2 separate regions of the Homo sapiens genome follow, and region 2 is linked to region 1. Evidence: promoter capture Hi-C in human tissues and cell types (Jung and others, 2019). All regions are on one chromosome and are shown on one strand. The core of a region is centred on a gene start or on the middle of the fragment in contact, and the rest is flanking DNA. Distances in the headings are between cores, read along the strand shown. Region 1 holds the start of CLCN7 (chloride voltage-gated channel 7). Region 2 holds the start of UBE2I (ubiquitin conjugating enzyme E2 I).

The links. The method cuts DNA at HindIII sites, captures the fragments that hold promoters and counts their contacts. A contact is called where the count stands out against the background at its distance.
Region 2: a contact is called between the fragment with the promoter of UBE2I here and the fragment with the promoter of CLCN7 in region 1, in 1 of the 25 tissues and cell types used here (IMR-90 fibroblasts).

What each region holds. Positions count from the first base shown.
Region 1 is chr16:1,471,282-1,478,269 of GRCh38, reverse strand. CLCN7 (chloride voltage-gated channel 7) reads left to right here and starts at 3,242. Exons shown (of 25, transcript NM_001287.6): 1 at 3,242-3,436. The coding sequence starts at 3,296. It also overlaps the pseudogene RPS3AP2. RefSeq lists silencers at 2,820-3,169, 3,290-3,499 and an enhancer at 2,739-3,282. The HindIII fragment of the contact is 17,994 bases long and covers 1-6,988 here.
Region 2 is chr16:1,305,421-1,312,408 of GRCh38, reverse strand. It overlaps UBE2I (ubiquitin conjugating enzyme E2 I), which reads right to left and starts at 2,773. Exons shown (of 7, transcript NM_003345.5): 1 at 2,636-2,773. RefSeq lists enhancers at 170-219, 1,652-2,263, 2,965-3,204 and silencers at 2,235-2,424, 2,625-2,924, 3,415-3,704. The HindIII fragment of the contact is 23,762 bases long and covers 1-6,988 here.

The DNA of each region.
Region 1 (6,988 bases), core at 1,993-4,492:
CCTGCCAGTGCTGCCTGTGAGAGGTCTTCCCAATCTGCTTGCTGCACTGTTTTAGTAAAAGCAGCACAGAACAGATGAGGCAAATGATCATCTGTAGTTTTGACAACCATATGAGCTTCAATCATGGTCTTTTTTTTTTTCCATGAAAGCTGGTCAGGCTGTTTTTGCACTGAACATCCTCAGTGATTAGCTTGAATTTTCCAGATGCAACTTCACCATTCTGCAGATGAGCAGTACTGACTTCAAAAACACGGCCCTTGAGGCCATCGGGTGTGATTTTGGTTCCTGACGTCCCTGTGCCTGGTGTTTTCCATACTCCTTATGCCAAGCACAGCTGGTGCTTTCGCCTCATGCCAGTCTCTCTCAGACAGTGGACCAACCTCTTTCTTCTTGGCTCCCTTCCTGCCACTTCGGTTAAGGTGCTCGTTCTTGCCTGCTGCATGGTGGTGCAGACAGCCAAGGGCCAGATGTTAACATTGCCATTTTCCCTCCCTCTCAGAAGGCTGCTACTCATTATGATTATTGTCAGGTTTTGAATTGTCCGAGTGTAAGCTGCAGACATAGCAACACAAGGTCCCAAGTATTTCAGTATGTATCTCCTAAGATCGGGGAGCTTTCCTGACGTAACCACAATATAATGATCACGCGTGGGAGATTTACTACTGCTCCAACACCGTTAGCTCATACAGTGTATGTCCAATCTTTGCCAATTGTCTCAACCATGCCAGACCCACGTGAGGTTGTCTCCTCAGCCTCTCTTTGTCTCTTTCACAATACTGACATTGTGGAAGAAGATGGCCTAGATGTTCAGCAGGCTGTCCCTCAAAGTGGGATTATCTGGTGTTTCCCCTTTATGAGTGGACTCAAGGTGAGCATGTTTTGCAGGAATGCTCCGGAAGGGACGTTGTGTCCTTCCTGGTGCATCACATCAGGAGGCACACGATGCCACCTTATCCCATCACCAGCAATGCTGAACTGGGTTGCTTGGTTCAGGTGGCGCCTGCTAGGTTTCTTTTTTCCCTTCACCGTTAAGAAATGCTGACCCTGGGCCGGGCACGGTGCCTCATTCCTGTAATCCCCGCACTTTGGGAGGCCAAGGTGGGTGGATCACCTGAGGTCAGGAGTTCAAGACATGCCTGGCCAACGTGGAGAAATCCCATCTTTACTAAAAATACAAAAATTAGGCCTGGCGCCATGACTCATGCCTGTAATCCCAGCACTTTGGGAGGCCAAGGCAGGCGGATCACAAGGTCAGGAGATTGAGACCATCCTGGCTAACACGGTGAAACCCCGGGTCTACTAAAAATACAAAAAATTAGCCGGGCGTGGTGGCGGGCGCCTGTAGTCCCAGCTACTTGGGAGGCTGAGGCAGGAGAATGGCGTGAACCCGGGAGGCGGAGCTTGCAGTGAGCCAAGATCACGCCATTGCACTCCAGCCTGGGCAACAGAGCGACACTCTGTCTCAAAAAAAACCAAAAGGAAACAAAAAAAAGAAAAATTAGCCAGGTGTGGTGGCGGGTGCCTGTAATCTCAGCTACTCGGGAGGCTGAGGCAGAAGAATCATTTGAACCCAGGAGGCGGAGGTTGCAGTGATCCAAGATAGCGCCATTGCACTACAGCTTGGGTGACAAGAGTGAAACTCCGTCTCAAAAAAAAAAAAAAAAAAGAAGGAAAAAGAAAAAAGAAATGCCAACCATGGCCGGGCATGGTGGCTCATACGAAGAGTCCTAGCAACTCAGGAGGCTGAGGAAGGAGGATCCCTTGAACCCAAGAGGTCAAGGCTGCAGTGAGCTATGATCTTGTCATTGTACTTCAGCCTGGGTGACAAAGTGAGACTGTGTCTCAAAAATAAAAAAATAATAATAATAATTTAAAAAAAGGCCGGGCACCGTGACTCACGCCTGTAATCTCAGCACTTTGGGAGGCCGAGGCGGGTGGATCACGAGGTCAGGAGATCGAGACCATCCTGGCTAACACAGTGAAACCCCATCTGTACTAAAAATACAAAAAATTAGCCGGCCATGGTGACGGGCGCCTGTAGTCCCGGCTACTCGGGAGGCTGAGGCATGAACCCGGGAGGCAGTGAGCCGAGATTGGGCCACTGCACTCCAACCTGGGCGACAGAGTGAGACTCCGTCTCAATAATAAAAATATCGACCTTTTAAAAGGAAGAGGATGAGGCACAAAATATAAAGAGTTTACTCTAGAGGCTAACGTGGAAGGATCACTTGAGGTCAGAAGTTTGAGAACAGCCTGGGCAACACACTGTGAGCTCCACAGCAAAAATTAGCCGGGTGTGGTGGTGCAGGCCTGTGGTCCCTGTTACTCCAGAGGCTGAGGCGGGAGGATGGCTTGAGTCCAGGAGGTCAAGGCTGCACTGAGCTGTGACCGCACCACCGCACTCCAGCCTGGGCGACAGAAGGAGACCCTGTCTCAAAATAAATAAATAAATGACCCAGAAGGTGGGGACAGGGTGGGGGCTGATGTAAAGCTGTCAAGAATTCTCTTTGGTTTATGGAAATACCATTGATTAGTGATGGGCTGTGCCCTGGTGCGGGTACAGGGTCCGGGCGGCTATTTGGCTAATTCACAGCTATCTGCGTAGTAGCCGGCAGTTTCCAGAGGCGACCCTCCTGTACTGTCTCTGGGGCCTGATCGTTGAAGAGGACTCGCCTTCTGTTCTTTTCTCATTAGGCGGGAGGACCCTCTGGGGCTGCCTGGAGGAAGCCTCCACTCCGACCCTCGCCCGAGTGCCTACTGCGAGGGCGGATGCATGCTTCGGGACTTCTAATTTCATCCTTCACGTCTTTAGCCGCCGCCTATGGCAAGGAAAGGCCTGCCCTCGCCCCTGCCTCCCTCCTCCCTTCCCCACCGCGGCTCCGTCACGATCGGCGCGGGCGACCGGGCCTGGGGGAGCCCCTCCAGCCGGCTCCTGCCCTCAGGCCCCGGGCGCTTCCCTCGCCCCGACTCCCGGGCCCGAGGTCCCGGGGGCGGCCATTCGCCTCCCAAGCACTCGGCGCTCAGCCCAACGGGGCCGCCTTTGCAGTCGCGTGGGCAGAACGGGGTCCTCAGGGCCGCGGCGATTCTCTAGGGCGGGCGGCGCCACGACCCGCCGGGAGCGCGGCTCCCAGGAGCCCCCGCGCGACCGGGCCTCGGTGGTTGCCGTTGCAGGTCACATGGTCGCCGTCGCTCATCACGTGGCCCCGTCGCGCGTCACGTGGCCGCCGGCGCGGGTCACGAGAACAAACACGGGGGCAGCCGGCGCTTCCCGGCCGGTGTCGCTCCGCGGCGGGCCATGGCCAACGTCTCTAAGAAGGTGTCCTGGTCCGGCCGGGACCGGGACGACGAGGAGGCGGCGCCGCTGCTGCGGAGGACGGCGCGGCCCGGCGGGGGGACGCCGCTGCTGAACGGGGCTGGGCCTGGGGCTGCGCGCCAGGTGAGGCCGGGCAGGGCGCAGGCGGGGAAACTGAGCCCTCGTGCGCCCCGCAGCCCGCGCCCTCGTGAGCCTTCTGGCGGCGCCGCGTGTCTCGGTCCTGGAGGCGACCGAGGCGCGGTGGACTCGGGAACGCGCCCCGGGGCTCCTCGGCGGGGCCGGGCTGGCGGGGGCGCCTGGGGTCTGGAGTCTTCGGAGGCCGCGCCGGGCTCGGTGGCCGGGAGGGCTGCGTGGGCGAGGCGGAGCTCGCCAGACCCCGCGGAATGTGGGGCGCTGAGGGGCGCCGGGGCAGCCGTGGCGCACGTTCATTCCCTCCGGTGTCCCCCAGACTGGCCCTAAAGGGGTGCAAGTGGCTTTCTGTTCAGGTGACTTTTAAAAATTGTCATCCTACACGAGCAACTAATTTTGTTTGCGTTTTTGACCCCCTGGGAGATGGAAACAGTTAAGATTGCAGCCGGGTCACTGTCTTTCAGTGAGAATGACTGAGCGCCTTTATCTGCCATCTTTCTGTGTGGGGATCAGTCCCGACTTTCAGGTGATCTTGGGAGTGACGAGTATTTGTACTCAGTCTCCCTTCGCACCGAGTTGAATTTGCAATGTGCAGGCAAACACAATAAGCAGCAAGTCAGAGGTTGGAATGCGTTCCGCATGTCACCCTGCAGCGTGCGTCTGAGCAGTGTTAAGGTCTGGAGAACCGTTGCGGGTACATTTGTTTCCCTGTCTGTGTATTGTCTTAATATTTTTTTTTTTTTGAGACGGAGTTTCACTGTAGTTGCCCAGGCTGGAGTGCAATGGCGCGATCTCGGCTCACTGCAACCCCCACCTCCCGAGTTTAAGTGACTCTCCTGCCTCAGCCTCCTGAGTAGCTGGAATTACAGGCGTGCGCCACCGCGCCCGGCTAATTTTGTATTTTTAGTAGAGACGGGGTTCCTCCGTGTTGGTCAGGCTGGCCTCGAACTCCCGACCTCACGTGATCCCCCGCACCTCAGCCTCCCAAAGTGCTGGGATTACAGGCGTGAGCCACTGCGCCTGGCCGTATTGTGTTACTTTTGAGTTAATGGACCGTTTTGTTGATGGGTCTTAATCTGCTTTGCAGTTATTCTTTACATTTTCTCTTGTCTAGTCCTTTAAACACTTGTCTTGTGCTTAAAGATTAGGAAGGACGGCAGGGCACGGTGGCTCACATCTGTAATCCCAGCACTTTGGGAGGCCGAGGCGGGTGGATCATGAGGTCAGGAGATTGAGACCATCCTGGCTAATATGGTGAAACCCCGTCTCTACTAAAAATACAAAAAATTAGCCAGGCGTGGTGGCGGGCGCCTGTAGTCCCAGCTACTCGGGAGGCTGAGGCAGGAGAATCAATTGAACCCGGGAGGCGGAGCTTACAGTGAGCGGAGATGGCGCTACTGCACTCCAGCCTGGGCAGAGCGAGACTCCGTCTCAAAAAAAAAAAAAAAAAAAAAAAAGTTTAGGAAGGACACGAAAATCAGCCTGTTTCCATAGAACCTACATTTAGGTTTTCCCAATTCCTTAGAAACGCACCAGACAAAGAAGGTCATAGTCTGCCTTTTGCTGATAAGAAGCAGCAGCTCAGCTCCCTTTGAAGTGGGCCCTCCTGCTCTCCGTGCTGTAGTCTGCATGAAAAGTGATCTGAAGGGGTTAATTTGAAGTGATGGGGCCATGGGTGATTAGTTATTTGTGTGTATGCCTGTGTGTGTATGTGTATGCCTCTGTGTGTGTGTGTGTGTGTTTCTGTTTTAAAAGAAAGGCCAGGTGTGGTGGCTCATGCCTGTAATCCTAGCACTTTGGGAGGCCAAGGTAGGGGAGGATCACTTGAGCCCAGAAGTTCAAGACCAGCCTGGGCAAAATAGTGAAACCCTGTCTCAAAAAAAAAAAAACAAAATTAGCCAGGTGTGGTGATATGCATCTGTAGTCCCAGCTACTGGCTCGGGAGGCTGAGGCAGAGGAGTCGCATGAGCCCAGGAGGTTGAAGCTGCAGTGAGGTGCTTTTTTTTTTTTTTTTCCGAGGTAGTTTGTCACTCTTTTGCCCAGGCTGGAGTTTGAGAACCTATCTCAAAAAATTTAAAAAAAATTTTTTTAATTAAAGAAATCTGAAGTTCACAAGGTAGAAGGAATAAACCCAACTTTAAGGGCTGAAAGGTAAAGATTAGGAACCTTGATGGAGGTTGAATTTGAGTTTCTCTTGGGACTGAATGTGCTTGGGGTTTCCTGTCTGTCTTTGCAAATAGAAGAGTTGATTTTTTGGGAAATAATCTGTTGATCTCTTAACCTTAGAAAGTATTCCCGGCTGTGCACGGTGGCTCATGCCTGTAATCCCAGCACTTTGGGAGGCCGAGGCAGGTGGATCACCTGAGGTCAGGAGTTCGAGACCAGCCTGGCCAACATGGTGAAACCCCATGTCTACTAAAAATAGAAAAATTAGCCGAGTATAGTGGTGAGCGCCTGTAATCCTAGCTAGTCAGGAGGCTGAGGCAGGAGAATCGCTTGAACCCAGGAGGCAGAGGTTGCACTGAGCCGAGATCACGCCATTGCCTGGGCAACAAGAACAAAACTCCATCTCAAAAATAAAAATAAAAAAACTATTCCCTTAAAAGTCATTGTAAGCTTATTTGTTTGTTTGCATTTAATAACAGCGGATACTCTGCTTACAAGCAATTTAAAAAATAGTTTATCGTGCACTTGCTCTGTGGCTGCCTGGGACGCAGGCGCATAAAGCTGCTTCCTTCCTGCTGGAGACAGGCCCAGTGCCCTGTGCGGATGGTCTGCAGGGCCCCTGGGGCAGGAGCAGTCACAAGGCTTGGGCTTGAAGAGCACAAGATCTTCAGGCAGGCGGACGGGGGGAAAGGACAGAGGGAGTGTGTGTTTGGGATGCGCTGTGGAGCCTGGAGGTCAGCCCTGCTGCGCACATGAACAGGCTTTGAATTTGGCTCATCTCTAGGGGAGCCCATGGGAAGCTAGGACCCCATTCCTGAAGGGCCCCAGCCTTCCCCTGCAGACAGACTGGAGAGGCGGAGTCTAGAGGCCAAGACACCACCTCTTAGGCCAGGCGTTTGTGCTCTGAGCATCGGACTCGCCGATGGCCTCCTGCAAGGCCTGTAGCCTCCCTGTTGCCCAGTTTTCCCGTCTGCGAAAAAGTTAACGCATGCATAGCGCTGAGCACGGTGCCTGTCACAAACTACGCTCTGAAGAAACGTGAGTCGTGCCCGGTCGTGTTAAAACCAGCAACACAAGAGGGATTCGTGTTCGTTGTGACTTTCCTGTCCAACTTCCTGAGTAGCTACTGGATTTCTTGGTGCTGCTTTTCTGGGGGAGGGTCTGCTCTGACTGGTGGGCACAGCTCACAGTTAGGCTCAGGCGCACCCCAGTGTGGCCACAGACGGGGTACTGTAAGCTGCCCTTGGGTTCAAGGCCTCCAGAGCTGTTTTGAGCTAAAATATCAACCCAGGCCATCCCCTGCTGACGGGACTGTTCCAGTGAACATGAGAACTGGTCCTAGCTGCCTCCAGGCTCTTTAGGGTTTGTTGCAGGATTTTC
Region 2 (6,988 bases), core at 1,524-4,023, 170 kb after region 1:
GAGCCGCCTGCCCTGCAGGTGAATTTGGCTCCTTTTCACCAAACACAGATCCTCAGGGCAGCCTGAGAAAAAGCAGGCGAAGGAACCTGGGTCCTCCAGTCAGCAGGCGCTGGCGTCACAGCGAGAGGGTGACAGGGGCCAGCCGGGCACTGGCCTCCAGGTCCACGACTAAGTCCAAGACAGGCAGCCCGGGCTGGAGGCAGCCCCAGACCGGGCCCCACCGGGATGTCCTTCCCCACGCCCTCCTCACATGATGCAGAGGAGCCCGCAGGCCGCCCGCCCTCTGGACCGTTTGCCCTTCCCCGTGCCCTCCTCTAAGTGAGGGGGGGGGAGCCAGGGGCCAGACAGGGAGAAAGTGGGGGGCACAGCTATGGTCAGGCAGGGTTCGAGCCCAGAGCGGAGTGGAGCGCCCGCCAACCACGGTTTCAAGGCTGTCTCCGCACTGGGCTGGACTCCGAAACTCCACACGTTCCTCCACCCTCCACTCCCACGTGGAGCAGCCCAGCTGCGACTTGAGGACTCACAGCTCTCGCTTCCCCAGCCCCAGGATGGGCTTCCTGAGTGGCCGCAGCCTGTGCCCGGTGCGGTGCAAAGCAGCCTGGCGAGTGGCCATTTCAAGGAGGCACGACCTCCCAGGTGCCCGGGGTCTGAGCGAGGCCAGGCATCAGGCAAGTCTCTGAAGCCTCAGGCCAGTGCTCCAGACACTGAAGGACCATGGGCAAGGCTATCCTCACAGCCAGGCAAGGCCAGGCCACAGAGAGGCCAGACGGGCCTGGGACCCTGCCACAGGCAGCCCTCCTGCTGAGGACTGGACAGAGCCGCCTAGAGGCCCCCGTCCCAGCACCTAGCTATTGCTGTCTCAGGTGTGAGAAGTCGTGAGGGGTGGTCCTGCGAGACCTCCTGCCAAGACCTGGCTGCTGCTGCTGTGTCCCCTGCCCCAAAGCACTCAGCACCACGGGGTGGTCTCACAGGCACTGCACCGCCAGGGCAAGGAGCCACAGGTGCACACCCACCGTGTCCCAGACAGAAGCCAGGCCCCTCCCCCTGCACCCCCTCCTACTGGCCTTCTGGAGAAAGCGGCCAATCTGTTACAATGTAATCACAACACAGATCAAGCGTTCAAAATTCCGCTGAAAATCGAATTTGCCCTTCCAAATTCACAGATAGGCACTTAGTGAACGGCTAGTAGTTACTAAACGCTTCAGAGCAAGAAACTTTTATGATGCAAAGACAAAAACAACCCTCATCTATTAGAGCCAGGCAAGGCCCAGACACTGCAGAAACGGGGACAGGGCCGGGCACTCCAGGAGCGGCCCGAAAGTCTGCCTTCTGTCCTCCTGCTGGGCGCCCGCAACCGGCTGAGCTTTAGCTTCTCGGATCACCGCCTTGCTCTGCTGGTTGACAGCACCGACTTCAGAGCAACTTCCTGGCTGAGGGTGAGCAAAGCACTCACCTCCCACAACTCCACCGCACTGATCTCCACAACGGGTGGTCGCCACGACAGGCTGGCACAAGAAGCCTTTAAAGGCCCTCCTGCACCCAAATGCAAACTCTCCCAGGCTTGGGGAGGTATTCCCTTCTGCAAGACCCAAGCACCTGCAGTCGGGAGACGCTTACCTGGCCGCACCTGATCTGCCCCAGGCCCCGAGAATGTTTCTGAAGCAAGATCCCAAACCCTGAGACACCATACAAGCGCACACCAGCAATCACCCAGTGGCCTAGGGAACGGACCTCTCTGAATGAGCAATCAGGGCAAACTGAGGATCCGTCCCGTCTTCCGTTGCATAGGTTCTCTACCCAAAGGCAACGTTTCTTGAAGAGCAAGAAACACTTGGGGTAGGTCCTGTAAAAGGAAACAAACCGAACTCCCCAAAGACAGGCACTTTGCAAACAGAGAAACTAAGCGTAACTTCCAATTATACAAACAAAACCACTTCATTCTGCGATTCAAGCGTGACTACAGGCCACGATCACAAGCCCAACTAATCATTCCCTTACATTCCTCCTACGCACGTTAACTACCAGAACCAACTACTATTCAACCGATAAAAAGAGATGTCCAAAACAGAATAAAACTCCCCCTCCAGCGAGGCGCTCACGTTCAGGGCCCCAGCAAGCGCCAGCGGAGCATCTTCAGAGGCACAAGAAAACTTACACTTGTTTTGGTTTTAAGGCACCGAAAACAAGCCCGCTCGCCGGCCCCCACCCCCGCGAGCCAGCGATGTTGCAATCCAAGACTCTCCCCCCGCGGCCCATCCTATCCGTCCGCGGGGCGACCGTGACCCCGGAAGCCGCTCCCCGCGCAGGAGGAAGGCGCGGCCTCGCGGGGCCCCGGCTGCAGGTGGCTGCCCCGGCCCCGCGCCAGGCGCACCTCGGGGGCGAAGTGGGGGAGCCCCGGCCCCGAAGGCCTGCGGCGGCCCGGCCGCTCGGGCCGCAGCCCAGCGGCGCCAGCAGCGCGGACCGAGCCGGCGCCGAGCGCGGGGCCTCTCGGGCTCCCCGGAAAGCTCGGCCGCGGCGCGGGGCCCGGCTCGGCGGGGCGGGGCGCGGGGCAGTCGGGGGCCCGGGCCCAACAGGAGTAGAGGCCTCGGCCCGACCCCCGCCCCGCGGCCCCGGCCCGGCCCCCGCACGCGCTCACCTCGGGCGGCCGCAGCCCCGGCGAGCGTAGCGGACAGGTGGAGGACCGAGCGGGGCGGCGGCGGCGGCGCTTCCCTTTGTCTCGGGACTTCCCTCCGGAGCCCGCTCCGCGCGCAGCCAGAGCAGCTCCGAGGACCCTGGCGCGGGCGGGGCGCGCGGGGCGGGGCCTAACGCGGGGCTGCCCTCTGCACGCCTGCCTCGCGCGCCGCTCCTGCCGCCCGGCCCCGAGCGCCTCCCGCGCCGCCGAGCGCTCCCCGTTGCCCGCGCCCCGCCGCCGCGCGCCCGCGCCCCGGGTCCGCCCCAGGAGCCCGGCCGGGGGGCGACTTTCCAGTCAGGCGGCGCCCTGGACACCTACGCCCTTAAAGGAGCCGCGTCCCCGATGTGAGGGAGCGTCTGTAAACTCCCCTTCGGGCTGCCCGCGTCCACCCGAGGACACGCCGGCAAGCAGCGGGGGAAAAAGGAAGCCGAGATCTCCAAAGGCTCCCCGGATGCCTGGCGGTCACCTCTCCAGCCACAGGTCCCGGAGGTTTCCTTGGGGTCAGGTCCTGGGGCCGGGGGTCAAAGACCACTGAGGCCTAAGGATCCTCTGAAGCGTCGCAGGACGGTGACGCTCCCGCGAGTTCAGCGCCCTGTGAAACCCCTTGCAATTGGCCAGTTCGGGGCGGTAGGCGGGGACACCTTCTCATCCGCCCAATGAGCTGACCCCGTACAAAAGGCCGAATGCGAGCATGACCGACGGGAGGAGAAGTGTGGATGCTCCCTAAACCGGGGGCTGGCCCTGGGCCGGGGCGCGGGCGGGACGTGGGGGACCGCGAGCGGCGGGGGCGGGGCGAGCCCGTGGGGGAGGGGCGCTTCCGGTCCCCCCTCCCGCCCACGCAACAAGCAGGACCGGGTCGGGAGGCCCCCAGACCCGCGAGCGCGCGGGACAGTCCGTTCGCCAACGCGCGACCGTGCTGGCCCCCGGGCTCTCCCGGCCCCCCCGCCCGCATTTCGCCGACGGCGGGGCCGCAGCCAAGGTCACGGTGTCCGGGTGCTTGGGGACCGCGGGGAGTGACCACATTCATTCATTCCCTCCCTCACTCATTCATTCATTCCCTCCCCTACTCCGTCATTCCCTCCCTCACTCACTAATTCCCTCCCTCCCTCACTAATTCCCTCCCTCCCTCATTCATTCGATCCCTCCATCACTCAATCATTCCTTCCCTCTCTCACGCATTCCCTCCCTCACTTACTCATTCATTGCCACCCTCACTCACTCATTCCCTCCCTCACTTACTCATTCATTCCCACTCACTCATTCCCTCCCTCACTCACTCATTCCCTCCCTCACTCATTCCCTCCCTCACTCACTCATTCCCTCCCTCACTCATTCCCTCCCTCACTCATTCATTCCCTCCCTCACTCACTCATTCTCACTCTCACTCATTCCCGCCCTCATTCATTCATTCCCGCCCTCATTCATTCATTCCCACCCTCATTCATTCCTTCCCTCCCTCACTCATTCCCTCTCTCATTCATTCCCTCCCTCCCTCACTCACTCATTCCCTCCCTCACTGATTCCCTCCCTCACTGATTCATTCATTCCCTCCATCACTCATTCATTCCTTCCCTCACTCATTCCCTCCCTCACTCATTTCCTCTCTCATTCATTCATTCCCTCCCTCCCTCACTCATTCCCACTCTCACAAACTCATTCCCTCCCTCACTTACTCATTCCTCCCTCATTCATTCCCTCCCTCATTCGTTCATTCCCTCCCTCATTCATTCATTCCCTCCCTCCCTCATTCCCTCCCTCCCTCATTCATTCATTCCCTCCCTCATTCATTCATTCCCTCCCTCATTCATTCCCACCCTCCCTCATTCATTCCCTGCCTCCCTCACTCATTCCCTCCCTCACTCATTCATTCCCTCCCTCCCTCACTGATTCTCTCCCTTATTCATTCCATCCCTCACTCATTCCCTTCCTCCCTCATTCACTTCCTCCCTCACTCATTCATTCACTCCCTCCCTCATTCATTCATTCCCTCCCTCCCTCACTCATTCCCTCCCTTACTCATTTATTCCATCCCTCACTCATTGCCTCCCTCCCTCATTCCCTCCCTCTCTCCCTCATTCATTCATTCCCTCCCTCATTCATTCCCTCCCTCACTCATTCCCTCCCTCACTCATTCATTCCCTCCCTCACTCATTCCCTTCCTCCCTCATTCATTCATTCCCTCCCTCACTCATGCATTAATTCCCTCCCTCACTCACTCATTCCCTCCTTCACTCATTCACTCCCTCCCTCCCTCACTCATTCCCCCACCACCTCCCACAGGGTCCCCAGCGGGCATTTCCCTGTCAGGCACCTGCAGCAGGAGGGGCAGCCACACACCCTGGGTCTGCCTGCCTGGGAGGCGCAGCCGTGGGGATGTGGGTCCAGGGCAGCAGGGGCAGCCTCCCCCAGAATCCAGTCCCTGGAAGCCATGCACAGCCCTGTCCCACCAAGACCAGCGGGGGCCTGGCCTGGCTGCAACTCCCAGGCTCAGAGCCTCCGTGGCCTGTCTAGACACCTGCTGTCCTGGCCCCCAGCCTTGAGGTCCTGGGAATCTGCTTTTTTTTTTTCCTTTTTTTTGTGAGATGGAGTCTCACTGTGTTGCCCAGGCTAGAGTGCAGTGGCGCCATCTTGGCTTACTGCAACCTCCACCTCCTGAGTTCAAGCGATCCTCCTGCCTCAGCCTCCCGAGTAGCTGGGATTACAGGCGTGCACCACCACACCCGGCTAATTTTTGTATTTTTAATAGAGACGGGGTTTCACCATGTTGGCTAGGCTGGTCTCAAACTCCTGACTTCAAGTGATCCGCCCACCTCGGCCTCCCAAAGTGCTGGGATTACAGGTGTGGACCACCACGCCCAGCTGAAATCTGCATTCTTAACCAGCCCCCTGGGCAAGCCTGGCAGAGGGATATGGCCCTTTGGCTTCCTGACATGGGCTAAGGTTCCAACGCCATCTTTCTGGCGAAGATGCCAGCACAGGGCTGTGTGGGGAGGCGTCAGCCAGTAAAAGCCGTGGCTGAAGAAAAGCAAGACAGCCACGGGCCTCGGTGGATCCCGCTGCAGCCTCAGGCACAGAGAGGGCAGGGCTGGTGAGGTGGGGGGCTTGTCATGAGTGGGGCTTGGGGAGACTGACTGGATGTGGTGTGTGGCTGGGGAGGGCCTGGGCCTGAACCTGTGGGCCATGGGAGCCATAGAAGGTTGTGGAACAGGAGAAGTAAGACAAGGCCCTGGTTCCCTGTGTGTGTGTGGTGAGGGACTGAGGAGACATGGCTCAGGCATCTAGAGAATTCCTGTCCTGGTGGGAAGTAGTGCCAGGAGGGGCTGGGGTTTGGGGAGGCTGTGGCAGGTGAGGGTGAGGGACATGGAGCAGGTAGGGGTGAGGGTCATGGAGCAGGTGGGGGTGAGGGGCATGGAGCAGGTGGGGGAGGGAAGAGGCTCCCTCAGTTGTGCATCCTCAGCCCACAAGTGTCCTTTGAGCAGCCTGCACCTGGCACACGTTTTCAAGGAGAGGGGACTTGTTGGGTCCAGCTCCCTGGGTACAAAGGAGAAACTGAGGCTTGGAGAGGGTGGGGGGTTTGAATCAGTAACTATAAGATCCTGGGCAAGGCTTGTGGCTGACTGTGCCAGGCACGCGCCCACCTTTGCCCTGGTCCCCTTGGGAGGGGAGCAGGAAGTGTGATGCAGAGCTGCCTGCGGTAGGGCGGGACCTCCAGTGCCCTGGGTGCCCCCTCCGGGGCCTGCTGGGGCCAGGCTCTGCACAGGGGTTTGAGAGCAGAGGCCTCTTCACTGAGGGCCGATTCCCCCAGAGGAATAAGGGCCTCTGCAGTAGAGTGAAGGTGGACCCTTACCCCGGAGCACGCACAAAAACCAGCTCAAAAGTCAGCCTCGGGCCAGGCGCGGTGGCTCACGCTGGTAATCCCAGGACTTTGGGAGGCTGAGTAGGGCAGATCGCTTGAGCTCAGGAGTTTGAGACCAGCCTGCCCAACATGGTGAAACCCTGTCTCTACTAAAAATGCAAAAATTAGTTGGGTGTGGTGGTGCACGCCTGTAATTCCAGCTACTTCGAAGGCTGAGGCAGGAGAATCTCCTGAACACGGGAGGCAGAGGTTGCAGTGAGCCGAGATGGCGTCACTGCACTCCAGCTTGGGCAACAGAACGAGACTTCATTTAAAAATAAAAAGAAAAAAAAATTCACATATCTGAGAAGGAGTTATTATCCAGGATAATAGGCTGGGCGCGGTGGCTCACGCCTGTAATCCCAGCACTTTGGGAAGCTGAGGTGGGCAGATCACTTGAGGTCAGAAGTTCGAGACCAGCC